2 separate regions of the Homo sapiens genome follow, and region 2 is linked to region 1. Evidence: promoter capture Hi-C in human tissues and cell types (Jung and others, 2019). All regions are on one chromosome and are shown on one strand. The core of a region is centred on a gene start or on the middle of the fragment in contact, and the rest is flanking DNA. Distances in the headings are between cores, read along the strand shown. Region 1 holds the start of TSPAN19 (tetraspanin 19). Region 2 overlaps SLC6A15 (solute carrier family 6 member 15).

Region 1 (7,312 bases), core at 1,618-4,117:
TTAGAAAAGACACTTAAGATAGGGGGATAATTTATAAATGGCTGTGGGAATGGAAACAGTATCACAATATGAGAGATGTAGTAGGAAGTAGAATTGCCAGCATTGGGATAACCAAAGAATCAAAGATGGAATGTAGTCTGTAGAAATGATGTAATTAAACTTTGAACATTATCTCATATTCTACATTGTCTCATTTAAATTGATTCCCTTTATCGTCGATATTTTGCAAATGCTATTATCCCCAATATCATCAATGAGGAGAGAAAGACTCAGCAAGGCAAAATTACTTGCCAAAGGTCACTTAGTTAATAAATGGCAGAGATGAGATTTAACTCCATTGATATAAACCACCCTCTCAATAACTTTCCCAAGCCCCAGTATCATCATCTGTAAATGCAGATTGTAATAGTACATGCCTCAAAGAGATGTTGTGAAAATTAGATGAGATTATGTTTGTAAAGCTCTTAGCCCAGTGCCTGGCTAGATGTTAGTTATCTCGTTATATCATAAGGCTAGAATCTCGTTATATCATATCTCAGTATAGAAATATTAAGATTATACAAGAGTCATGCATGTGAGAATGGGGAATGGGATGGAAACTGTGGGAAAGTCATAAATTCTCATTTTTCTGTGAAGTGGTTGGTCATGACAGCAGCTGGGAGGGAGCACAAAGAGAGTTAGAGAATCTGAAGGCTTGAGACACACTTTAAGTGGAACAAGAGAATGAGAGGCCTAAGAATACAATATGTGGTACTATGAGCTACATAGTAAATTACTTTTACTCAATAATTACGGTGCCTCAAGAAAATGAAACAAAGAAATACCTGCTCTGCAACTATTTTGAACACAACAATGATATTATGGGATATTTAAATTATATCACTGCCATATGAAGAATAAAGCAGTTGTTGAAAAATGCTCTTAAACTAAAATGATTTCACTACAACACATTTTCAAAGGAATATTAGTCTTGTCAGATAACAAAGAACAAACAGTTATCTCTCATTCTTTCATTCTCTCAATAAATATTTATTATGTACTCTCTAAAGGAAATATGCATTGTTAAGCCAATATGCTATAAATCAACCACACCTACAAATTGTTTTTAAAATTTAAATGAAATGAAGTTAACATGTTCAAAAGAAACAAAAGTCTACTCAGGTTAAAGAGTCATAGGCAAACCAACATACTCAATCTGAAGTTACCGTTTCTAGGAATAATGCAATTAAAATGGACTTCTGCTAAATACTACATGGTTGATAAACAACAGTGTCAAGTTAAATTTACTTATAATCTACAAATGTATTAGATAACTGCTGCCTTTTATTTTTGATTAGTTATATTCTAGCGAAATTATGACTAATTGATAAAGTTGTCCTTTCTTCCAAAGTAAAAAATCGCATGACAATATAGGAGATCTATCACCATGAATTAATTTATCTTCAGAAAATCTTTCACTGTTTTTCTTTTTTGCTGTCAATATTTGACAAAGTAAGCTTTGAGAAGGAAAGGAACTAAGGCATTATTTCCAAAATTATTTGATTATGAAAACTAGTTATTCAAAATTAATTTTGAAATTATTAAAGGATTTATAATTTTTAGAAGTCTGGATAGTTTCACAATCAAAAATAAAACTAATCTTAAGATTCTTATGTGAACTTCAACACAATATGAAAGTCTATTTTAAATGAACAGTTTGAGGTTCGAACACAGTAGCTCATACCTATAATCCCAGTGCTTTGGGAGGCCAAGGCGGGAGGATTACTTGAGTACAAGAGTTGGAGGCTACAGTGAGCAATAATTGTACCACTGCACTCCAGCCTGGGCAACAGAGGGAGACCCTGTCTCTAAAAAAACAATAAAAAATAGATAATTTCAATAGTCTATAAATCAGCAATAAAACCAAACTTAAAAAAAAGAACAAATTCCATTTGAGCATGGACTTTGATAATGAAAATACTCTGAATTTAATTAGACCTGAAACCAAGTGTAGTTTATTTTTTAAAATCATCTTTCCTGAAAAGGAAACTAACATGTGTGCTTTTAATATGAGAAATCTATTAACGTCTCACTTTATATTATTAGTTCTTATGTTGATGCAATTCAAGTTTATTGTTACCAGGAAATGTAGTCTATTTTTTTTCCAGAGGCTCAGTGAAATATTTGCTTTTAGCTTATTTTATAGCAGATACCTTTTACAATTATGGCTACTTCCTTTTAGAATTTAATGCCTTATTTGCAAACTTTAAAAGAAAATTAAAGTAAAAAATATGTTATTAATTAAAATATTATTTTGTACCCTATGTATTTGCTCCACAAAAAACTTTAATAAATTAAGTTAAAATTAAATAGCATGACATAAACTTAGAAATTAAGGTTTTATATTGAAATACTGTGTGACAATATTTTTACAGTAAAATAACTCCAGAAAATAATTTTTCAAATTTCTCACCCACATCCCTTCAGTTAGAGGTTTTTGATGGGCATTGATTGATGATTTTTTTCTTTTTTCCTTTTTCTTTTCTTTTCTTTTTTAAAAAACTGTTGTCATGGAAGGCAAACAACTTATTGACTTCTCTTCCATACTTCTATGTCCCACAAATCACTGTTCAGGATTAAGGGTTTGTGGAATGAACACCTTATACATGGGCAAATCACCAGATGGAAATATAAATATATGTAGCTCAGAAACAATTTAAAAAATTTAAAAGTGAGATTACATCTACTTGGGTAATTATAACAAAATTTCATTTTATTAAGTATTTTCCAAAGTTACTTAAATATTAAAATCTACCTGTAAAAAACCGTAAGCTCCTCATCCAGTCCCTGAAATGCTGCGTTCGTTTCAATTTAGAATCGAGATTGTTTGTCCTTCTAGAGCACCTGTAGGGAAAAACCGGTGTCTCTTCCTTGTGATTGGCTGTTGCCATGGATACGCTTTGTGTAGCGGCTATGGGCGCTGTCTTACAACAAAGCCAAGGAATCTCGCTGCTGAGGGGTGAGCCGGGGTCTTAAGACTGGGATTCCCGTTGAGGGAGGTGAACAGCTGTGGGAGCTCAGGCCGAGCCGGGACTCTCTCTGCCTGGCCAGACTTCCAGCAAAGGGAGAGACCGCGGGTCAGGGGATGGCTGTGCGACTCTGCGAAGCTCGAGGCTCCCTTCCACCCTGGAGATTTCGAGAACTCATTCAAAACTTAAAGAGATGTCTTGGCTATGTAGGGATCATTCGATGGTTACTCACTCACCGCTCCCCACAAACCAATTGACGTTATTTTCCTTCCTTCCTTCCCTTCTTGTCGCCCTCCTTTCCACCCTTTCTTTTTCTGTCTCTCTTTCTTTCTTTTTTTTTTGGTAATATATAATTTATATGAACCTTATAAAGTAGATTTCTCTCCCCTTTCTTTACAGGGGTTGAAGGGGGAGTTCCTTAAGCTTTTCTACTTTTGACAGCTTTAGTGAACTCCAAGTGATTCGTTATCAACTTAGAGCACTTTAATGTAGCCCATTTACAGTGAGACCCATCCATGACTGCACGTCATATACAGTAACCACTAACTGCAGGTGGCTACTGAGGACTTGAAATGCAGCTAATCCTAACTGAGATGTGCTGCAGGTGTAAAACACACAACAGATTTCTAAGAATTACTGTCCAAAGAAAGAATATAAACTCTTTGCAATGATATTAATAATTAATTTTGTTATTACACGTTGAAATATTTTGGATATATTGGGTTAAATAAAATATATTATAAAAATTAATTGCACTTCTCTTTTGTTTTTAAAAAGTTGCTAATAGAAAATTTAAACTTGCGTAAGTGCTCAAATATGTAATTGGACAGGGGTGATCTAATGAGCCAGTAGATGAACAGAGAAAGTCATGTAAAGGAAATGACTCTTACCTCCACCATACTCTCCTGCCTCTCTTTCTATATAAAGTTTAGTATACCCGTGCATTTTGCTTTGTAGGCATAAAAAAAAAATCTAGCTTTCCTTCTAATAAAGCTTTTTAAATGCACTTTGAGTTCCATTGCAGGATAATATTTTGCCCTGGTTCTGTCTGGAGTTCCATTTCACTTTGTTTTTCTTTTCTTTTCTTTCTTTTCCTTTTTTTATTTTATTTTTTATTTTTGAGTGAGTGAGTGAGGGTGGAAGTTATGGGTAGAACTGATTTTGAGATGATTGAGTAGAGTGAAAGGAGGAATTAACGAAAGGGAAAGAGGATGGAAAGAAGGAATGAAGAAAAGAACAAGAAGACAGGTGGAAAGGTCAGGCCCTTGAGTAAAGAAAGAAAGGTTTAAACTAGTGTCATGAAAAATAAAATGATAGCTGACTAGTACGTTTTCAAACCTTTTTTGGGACTAAGACCAACAGTGAAAAATAAAAAACAGAACATTAACAACAACACATATTACATTGCAACTCATGCATACATACCTACATTTATATGTATTAATAACTGAAACAAAAATTTTATAAACAATTCTGATCTTTATTATATATAGTAAAATTATATAAACATATAAATCAATAAGAGTATTAGCGTACAATTACAGTTGATCATTTTGTAGTCAAAGTTTAAAAAGAATGATTGAAGAGATAAAACAATGTTTGGTGTAACCATAATAAGGTGTGATAAAAGTTTGTTAAATTAAAACATATTTAAATAAATATGTTGGATTGGTATGACAAATTAGAGAACACATAATTTTTAGTGACATATTAGCCTCTTCATTTTTTAAAGCAGTTCTGTGCTTTATTATGAAGAATAATGGACGATGATGATGCAAAGCTCAAAGCAGAAATAGAAGCTGAATTGGATAAACTCAGCATTTCCTCCTTGGAAAAAGAAGACATTGAGAGTGATGCAAAATCAGAAACCCAGAGTGATGATAGTGATACAGTGAGTATTGCACTTTTGAGCCTTTTAACAGGAGTAGGCTTTTCAGGAGAAATATTACTTTTCTCAGGATGTTTTTATGTACTTCTCATTTTTAGCAGCATTGTTATAAACAATTTATATAAATATAAATTATATTGAATATATATAGTCACCTATACATCTTCGTAAAATTGGGATTATCATTATATATATTTATATCCTGATTTTTGTTTTTACTTGTGAACATTTTAGCATGATTAAATTACATGGGAAGAAAAATGTATATGAAATCTTTTGACATATCAAAATGGTTACTTTTGGAAATAAAACAAATTATCCTTTTATTTGTGTATATTTACCAATGTTTATATGCTTCAGAGTTTATTCATAGATTTATTCATTTATACCAATATCCTTAATCCAACTGGAATTTATTTTCAGGAATGTTATGAAATGTAGAACTAATTTGAAAATCTCCTGCACATATTGAGCTAATATTTCCAGTGTCTCTTGTTTAATAATCTAATTTTTCTCAATTGATTTATCATATGTCTTACTGATAGTTATTGTACATATGATCTATCCAAGGCTGTCTGTTCTTTTCCATTACTTTATTCATTATTTTCCTACTGTTGTATATTTGTAAATATTGAGTGGACCAAATTCTTCACATCTTTTTATCATTTGAAAATCTTAACTAAGCTTTTTTTGAAAAAGAAAATTTTTTAAAGATTTGAGAACTTTGTTATTTTATTAGGATTGCACTAAACCTACCTATTACATTTAGAAAAATTAACATTGTTACATTATTATGTCTTTTATCCAGAGCTCATTTAAATGAGGCAAAAAAATCTGAAATTCTTTATTTGAGTATGAAATCCAACAGAATAATGGATTGTTTTATATTTTATTATACCTTTTTATATAAAGGAAGAAGAAAATTTTAAAGCCCTTCTGTTTCAATTAAGATACCTCACTATTATTTATATCACTTAGAATCAGTGTAAGTATTATTACCAGGGGAAAAAATTATTAACTAAGGATTTACAGATTATGAACTATATTTCCCAAGACATAACAACAATCTCTACAATCCAGGTAGCTTAGAATTCTATTTCTTAGTTAAACAAGAAATAGAAATCTCAATGCAGGACAGATGTCAGAAAAGTAGAATTGATATTTTTGTCACTATTTTTAATACACTACTTTATCAGGACTCATTTTATGACATATAATTTTACATGCTTTTCTGTAGTACTAAAAGAAAGGTAATATTTTCTCATTATCTTCTAATGTTCATTCTCAAAACTAAACACTGAATTCCATTAGTTAGGATAGAGAAAATAAAGCTGGCTGTAAATCCTAAATTCAACACATGAAAACCCAGTATGGCAGACAATATTTGTTTTTAGTTAAATAAAAGCAGGTGCATATCATGTTCTTCTATATAGAAGCATTTATATCGTTTCATTGATGCCATGCTTGAGGTCCCTCAGTGAAGTGTTGTCATCATGTAGATATATGTAACTTCAAGATTATTATTAAAGTTGTTCCTAGATGCTTCAAGTATTTTGTTGTTATGAATATTATTTATTTGCATTATATTTTCTAACTAGTTACGGTGTTTATGGAGGAAGGAATTTTATTTTTGCATTTTGCATATCAATATATTTAGCTATTTAGAAAATTTACAAATCGAGTTACATAGGCTATATTGGTAGATATTTTATAATAGCTTACAAATGTGACTAAATTTGTGTATGATAATCACAAAGCCAGTTTTGAATGTAATAAATAATTATATCAGGTATTAGTTTGATATTAAATATTTTGAAAAAATAATCTTGCAGTTTTGATTAATATTTGATAATATTTATTTGAAGTTGGAATTAATCTAAAAATATATACAACTATTGAGGGCATTCAAAAATAAACAGCCTGTAATAAAGTTAACGAAAGTGATGTGTAGGTAACTCTTTTCATTTGTTTTCTTAGAGTTTTCTAGAAATGCACAACCACCTGAAAATTAAAAGTAAACTCTAGCCAAATATATTTGTCTGAACTGTGCTGTTTATATGGAATCTTTTTACTTCATTTACATGTTTTGGTCACATTTTTGCTGTGGAATGAAGGGTCCAAAATTTGACACATAATTTTGATAATAAACACTTTCACAGTTTCTTGTATTATTCAAATTTTTAGGATTCAGTTGAATTACCAGAATCAGTTCTTCACTGTATTAACATCATAAAGAACAGGAGTAAAGCTGTTGAAGAGCTCATTCTTCAGGACCTGGAAGATACTGATATTTTAAGTAAGTACTATTTTCATCTGTCTGGCAGATAAGCTTTCTGTAAGTATGAACAAATTATAATTTAGTAAACTAAAGTGCTTAAAGTTCTTATCTCTTACTGTGCACATGTGTATACATTTA
Region 2 (7,312 bases), core at 2,312-4,811, 140 kb before region 1:
ACATACGCATGGGTTTTATTATTTTATTTGATGTAGGGTTTGTAGATTACAACCACATTAAAAATAAACCATATTTTTGTCCAGTCAATAAAATTATCACAAACTAGAATCAAATACCAAAATATTCTTTATATACTTTGTGTCCTGAAATGCATGACTTATGGAATATTTTATTTTCAGCCACACTTATTTTAACAGCATGTACGTGTACATAAATAATAATATTTCATATACATAGATAATAACATTTCAATCCAATGTTAGTTAAATTAAATTCAGTTTGGTTTTGGTGTACTATAGAATTAGCATCATATGTAAACAATTTTCCCCTTTGTAAAGTTTTTTCCCTAGACTTCTAAGATAATTTTGCTAAGTAAGCCTTTATAAGTACAAATGTAAATATTAATAGCAAGAATAGCAATGATGTTGCAGATAATTTTGTTTAAAATTAAGGTTGCTAATTTCTTTAAAGTTGTCTTTGAAATGGAACATTGTTCCAAAATACCCCCATAGAACTGGAAAGGAAATGCATAAAATGCCTAAGAATGAAGAATGTCTAGCATTGTATTATCTGTTTACATTCCTTCTGCTGGGATCTAAATGTTCTCATCAGCATTTGAAGATTATAATTATTCTAAGTTACATATCATTTTGTATTTTTTGAAGAATGAGGCAACTTAAAATTAAGAATTAATAAATCACGGAGAGAAAATTCTCTGTTTTCCTTCACCAGTATTGTCATATATCAGAAGCTTTAGGTTATTCTTCAAAGGGAATAATTTACAAGCACAAACGATGCAAGAAAAGTTTCACTCAGTTATTCAGAGTTGTTTAATAAGCTTCCGGAGAAAGAAGTTGAGAATGTGTTACCCTTAAGCAATCCCTGAGCATTCACAGCAAGCCCATCTGCTCCTGTGGAAACGTAATCTGAAAACATATCTGGGCTCACTTCCCACAAAGAAGTGGGTTTCTCTAGCTTTACAATGAAATTGAAAGTTTCAAAAATAATGAGAAACAGCAATAATAGGAGCTATTTGAGAAACCCAATTGCAATTTACTACAGTAATTTATCACTTAAAAAGATTACTTACCGCCCCCATTCTTCTGACATAGGTATGGAAATCGCCACACATTTCCTAAACCTACAGAAAATCCAACTTGGGCCAGGATGTATTGTAGTTTACTGTTCCAAGCTGGTCTTTCATCTTCGACTTCAGATCCTTCTTCAACATCTGTATCTTTCTCTTCCTGGCCATCAACAATTAGTTCACTTGTCTTAAAAGCATCATCAGCTGCGTCTTCATTGGAAAGAAGGTCTTTGACAGACTCAGTAACATCATCATCTAATTCTCTTTTTACCACCTTGCTATTTTTGGGCATTGGAGAGTATGCGAAGTATTTAAAAAAAAAAAAAAAAACTCCCTTATGGCAAATGTGTTAACTCTATTTTTCAAAACAATGTTACTTGATAGGAAGTAAAGACCGAGGATGATATCAAATAAATCCTTGATTCAAGGTGATAAAGCCTTATGGATTCTGAATCCGTATGTCCAGTATTCTGTAGGTACCTGTAAAATTATAAGTTGAAATGTGATCATATTTAATGATGAAAAAATTTAAATACAGAATTATTCTTTTTTATTTTTATGATAGAAACCCTTTCTACAGAGTATAAAACATGTAACTGTCTTTAGCATTTCAGAGCTTAATATTCCCGTAAGTATAAGAATTTTAAAGCACTTATGAGCTTCAAATACAATTTTCTTAGCTAACATCCTCCTTCTTGCAAAAATCTCAGATACACTCCAATGCATAATGAATATTCTGTTCATTAGTAACTAAACTTTTAGGACTCTTTTTCTTAATTCTTTATTTTTTCCTCCCTGACTAAAGCAGATATTTTCTTATATATCCCTGATTTTGTTCCTTGTGGAATTATAAACACAATTGCAAACCAACGCTGTAAATTTGTCTCATATATAATCTCTTCTGTTCAAACATTCGTCATTCACTCATTTGATATTAATTGTTCTTCTCAAAAATTTAACCTAGTTTATTTTATTTTATTTTTGGAGACAGGGTCCCACTCTGTCACCCAGGCTGGAGTGCTGTGGCAAAATCAGGACTCACTGCAGCCTGTACCTCTCCCAGAGATCCTCTTGCCTCAGTCCCAGAAGTAGCTGGGACTACAGGTGTGTACCACCACACCCAGCTAATTTTATTTTTCTTTTCTTTGTAGAGATGAAGTCTCACTATGTTGCCTAGGCAGATCTCGAACTTCTGGGTTCAAGGGATCCCGCCTTGGCCTCCCAAAGTGCTGGGATTATATTGCATAAGTGATCTCACCCAACCCATTTGATATTTATTGTGATGAGGCTTTATGGGATACAATAATCAATGAAACGTACAAAGCATGTTTTTAAGGATCTTATATTTAATAGAGAGAAAGGTACATCAAATAACAATTCTGTAGTGCAGAATTTAAATGACCCAACATTATTACAACAGGAAAGATCAGGAATGTTGGATAAAATTAGAGTTGAGCATAAATGGAGTGAGGTCATACCCAATCATAAGGAAAAGTATAAATGAGACAAGAAATGCTCAAAATGTACATTATATATGTGATCAGTCTCTTAACAGCTCAGGAAAAACACTGTAATCCCTTTGGGATTTTTTTTTTCCTTTCTTTATTTGTATGTTACGTCTCCTATCCTTTTCCCCACTCAGACACAGACCAAGTAAATATATAAGACATGTCTACAGTCCAGCGACACTATGTTAAAATGTGACTGAAAAATATGACTGCTTCTCTTCAAATCTGAATTAGGAAGTTTATGAAATGGTAGCCCAAGAATTCCGCCCTTCATTTCTGGAATAAAATAGAATTTATTAAGAGAACTGCTATTAGATTGACATTAAAAGTCAAAGAAAACAGCTATCATATTTCAATCTATAATCTTAATGAGCAAGACAAAGTGTTGGGTAACCCAGTGGAAAAAAAATTACTTAACTTACTATGTAACTAATTTGTTGCCTTTAGGTTGGGATGATGTTTAGTTGTTTTAAAATTAAAATATATACCCTAAGAGCAAACACTTCTCGTTTAGGATTTGGTGAAGATTAAGAGAAAACTGTTTAGAAAATTGTGAAAGAGATGCATTCCCAAAATATTTTGAGTGATAGACACATCTCCAGAATAGGTGTAAAACTTCCCACAGTGATTATTTTAAACTGATAAGAACAGATACTACACTTGATCTTAGCAAAAAGGCCGAGAAGCGATCACAGTGACTATTTCACAGAGGCCAACAAAGTTTTGATATGGAAATAATTCATGAGGTTTGACATTTTGTCTGTTTAATTTATATTATTTTCCCCTACAGCTCAGTAAATATTAGTTGAATACATTAATAAATATAGCCATTGAAAAACTGAAATAAACAAATTTCTAGATGGTATTTGCTGGAAGAAAACAACCTGACATATAAAAAATTGTGATTTGTAAGACATGAATTATCCAGAAAAAAGATTTACATTTATTAAATTATCTGAAGATAAAATGTGTTGGCATAGTAGCAAGTGATATATGGATAAGAGCATGGATTTTAGTCTGACAAATTTGGAGTTGTGTCCTAGCACTATAACTTATTAATTGTGTAAATGCTGATAGTTATGCCTCTCTTAACCTCAGTTCCCACAATAAACTTTGGTTTCTTATTCCTTTTGCTTTTTCCATACAGACAGAAAAGTAAGGAGTGTATCCAAGCTTAGAGATACTATTATAGTAAAAACACTCAACATTTTACAAAGAAAAAAAATTTTAAATAGTGTGAACCATGAATCTCCCCCAAATTTTTACGGAAAATACTATATCTCTTCTATACATTTATATTCTTTGGACAAAAAATACACACACAAAAATCAAAATAAAAGGTAATACCTTTGGCTACTACTGCATGTTTTTTACACACCAAGTGAATAATCCTCACCAATTTACATAAGTTATCCTTTGGCAAAGTTTACACTCAAATATTCTGATCAAACTACCTGAAGGTCATATTTTCTATTTTAAAAAATCAGTATCTAATGTAAACAAATTTTAAATGTAATATTATATCATAAACACTTTGAATATAAATAAATATATACTACAGATATCGTATAACAACTCTAGCCAAACTTTATAAAATAAAATACTTATTAAAAAGGGAGTTGAAGTGGGTATTTGCATGCATTAAAAGCTCCTTTTCTCATATGAGCAAAAAACTATAATGAATCCTTAATGATATTATAAATAAAATTATCTAAGCTCTCTTTTCTTACTATTTTTCTTACCCTGTCCCACTTCTTGGTCTGTCTGGGGTGGTTGTAGGAAGATAGGGGAAGAATTGTAATTAACATTAAAATATTCACAATAACATGTAAGTCTGGGAGAAAATAAGTTATTGCCTTGAGAATGACATTGTTTATCTTACTCACCCCCATATTACCAATGTTTAAACTTGTCTGTTGAATGAATGAACCGAAAGGTTTAAAGAATAAGATCATATAACTAAACAAGTATTTTGCACTTAGATGTTTTCATTTTTGTTTGTATTTTTTTTTTTTTTTTTTTTTTTTTTTTGAGATGGAGTCTCACTCTGTCCCCCAGGCTGGAGTGCAGTGGCATGATCTCGGCTCACCACAACCTCTGCCTCCCGAGTTCAAGCAATTCTCTGCCTCAGCCTCTTGGGTAGCTGGGATTACAGGCACCCGTCCCCATGCCCGGCTAATTTTTGTATTTTTAGTAGAGACGAGGTTTCACCTTCTTGGTCAGGCTGGTCTTGAACTCCTGACCTCGTGATCCACCCACCTCGGCCTCCCAAAGTGCTAGGATTACAAGCGTGAGCCACCATGACCAGTTTGTTTGTATTTTTACTTTAAGACCATGCACCCACTGAACATAAGAATTGACTTCTTGTGCACAGTTTTCATACAGCCAAAAGTAAATAGATAAATTTAGTTTCTGAAGAGATTTATTAAAACTAAGTATAGCAACAATAATTTAGAAGCCAGATCAATTTCACATTTTTAAGAGTAACTTTCTTGAAGGATAACCATTTTTATAAATTCTAAAAGCCCGCCTAAAAACTTAGTCCATAAATGTAGTCCATAAACATAGACAAAAAAGAAAATCAAAAGAGAGGTTGGCAATTGCCAAAAATGTATTACAATTGTTACATCTGAGAATAGAAGAAGAAATGAAGAGAAATGTCCAGGAAGAGAGATAGAGTGATAAAGTATCAGTGCTCGATAGGTCATATGGACAGTAGTGGAATCAGTATCAAGTAACAGCACAATCTCTGCCAACTTAGCAGCATCCATTCTTGTGATAGACAATCAACTAAGGAACAAGCTATCACTCACTGCACTTCATCTGCACCGAAGAGTTGTAATACTTGTCCTCATCATTATTTGGTAAGAGCCTCCTGTCTACAACTGTACAATAGAGCAGGAGTCAACAAAATATTGCTCATGGGCCAAATACAACCCACCATCTGTATTTTGTAAAAAAGATTGTATTGGCATGTATCCATGCCCATAAAATATTGCTCATGGACCAAATACAACCCACCATCTGTATTTTGTAAAAAAAAAAAAGATTGTGTTGGCACGTATCCATGCCCGTAGATTTACATTTTGTTATGGCTGATTTTGTGCTACAACAACAGAGTTATTGTTATGGACCGTAAAGCCTAAAATGTTTACTAACTCTTCACTGAAAACATTTGCCAACCTCTCTTTCAGAGAATAAATCTAAATTGAAAATGTGGAGTTCCCCAGCTCACTCAATTTGTATGGCACTACTTCCCATGTCAAAAAATATTCCAATATAGAAATTTCCCTATTGAAAATGCGTAGTTCCAAATAATGAAAAATATGTGTATGGAAATGGAAAGATAGAGGTGATAGTGGACACAGGAAGAAACATAAGCAAAAGACATATACAGAATATAAATATACACCAGGAAACAATGTGCTTCAGAGTTACAAAGAAAACATTTATTTAAAATAAATTTCATGGAAGTGAACTAAAAGATTAACTGAAAGAAAAAGGTAAGTGGATGAACACAAGAAATGGGAGAATTCATCAGAGGACTAAAAGTCACATTAGAAGCAACTGAAGGCCAGGTGTGGTGGCTCACGCCTGTAAACCCAGCACTTTGGGAGCACTAGGCGGGTGGATCACTTGAGGCCAGGAGTTCGAGGCCATACTGGCCAATATGGTGAAATTCCCTCTCCCCTAAAAAAATACAAAAATTAGCTGGGTGTGGTGGCAGGTGCCTGTAATCCCAGATACTCAGGAGGCTGGGGCAGGAGAATCATTTGAACTGGGGAGGCAGAGTTTGCAGGCAGCGGTTGCAGAGATCATACCACTGCATTCCAGCCTGAGTGACGGAGCAAGACCGTGTCTCAAATAAAATAAATAAAATAAAATAAAATAAAGAAAAAGAAACAACAGAAACTAGAATAAACACTACTGAAACTATATCTGAGGCATGGAGGACAGATGTAAAGAAAGTTCACAAAAAAGAAATGAAAAGTTACAAATATCTTAAAGTAATTTAGAAGAAAGCTAATGAAAACTGAAGTCAGCTAAAGGTAATCCAACAAACTTCTAATTGGTATAGCCAAACACAATAATACAATTAATAAAACACAAAATACTAAAAGAAAAGCAGAGGTTTTGCTTGAAGACTTGTATTTGCAAATAATAACAATACAGAAGAGTAAACACTGATAAATTACCAAGATAAGAATTCCTAGGGATTTCAAGCAGAAGTAGAAAGATCAAATTAAAACACTTCTCATAATATCTATTAATAGATGAAATTAAAACACTTCTCATAATATTCATTAATTTCAATAAAACTAAGAGAAAAATATATGATCTCCAATTTTATACCCAATTAATTTGTATTCCGATTATAAAAGCCACAGGCAAATATTCCTAAGCATAAGAGAAATGATGAGCCCTATGGGATGAAGGAGTGGGGTATGGAGGGAAAGACTACATAATCATAAAATTTAGCCAAACAGAGAAAACAAAGTAAAAGATCTTAGTAAAGAGGAGCCATGTTGAAGAATAGAAGTGAACATTAATTTAAACAAGGAAATATGGTTTACTTTTTATAGAAATTATGTGCAGGGGACAATTGTGAATTAAATTACCAAAAAAAATCAAAAATTGAAATGAGAGGAGAAAAAGAAATAAAAGTGTGAAAATATGCTCATCTTTCATGTAGGAAGTAATAGATACTGTGTAAAT

The links. The method cuts DNA at HindIII sites, captures the fragments that hold promoters and counts their contacts. A contact is called where the count stands out against the background at its distance.
Region 2: a fragment that was not itself captured here is called in contact with the fragment with the promoter of TSPAN19 in region 1 in 2 of the 25 tissues and cell types used here (hippocampus and mesenchymal stem cells).

What each region holds. Positions count from the first base shown.
Region 1 is chr12:85,033,410-85,040,721 of GRCh38, forward strand. It overlaps TSPAN19 (tetraspanin 19), which reads right to left and starts at 2,868. Exons shown (of 9, transcript NM_001100917.2): 1 at 2,795-2,868. LRRIQ1 (leucine rich repeats and IQ motif containing 1) reads left to right here and starts at 2,942. Exons shown (of 27, transcript NM_001079910.2): 1 at 2,942-2,998; 2 at 4,744-4,899; 3 at 7,081-7,192. The coding sequence starts at 4,768. The HindIII fragment of the contact is 3,053 bases long and covers 664-3,716 here.
Region 2 is chr12:84,890,741-84,898,052 of GRCh38, forward strand. SLC6A15 (solute carrier family 6 member 15) reads right to left here. Exons shown (of 12, transcript NM_182767.6): 2 at 1,092-1,568. The coding sequence starts at 1,380. It also overlaps the pseudogene LOC124903121. Among named protein-coding and RNA genes, the nearest start is that of SLC6A15, 18 kb to the right of the region's middle. The HindIII fragment of the contact is 5,533 bases long and covers 796-6,328 here.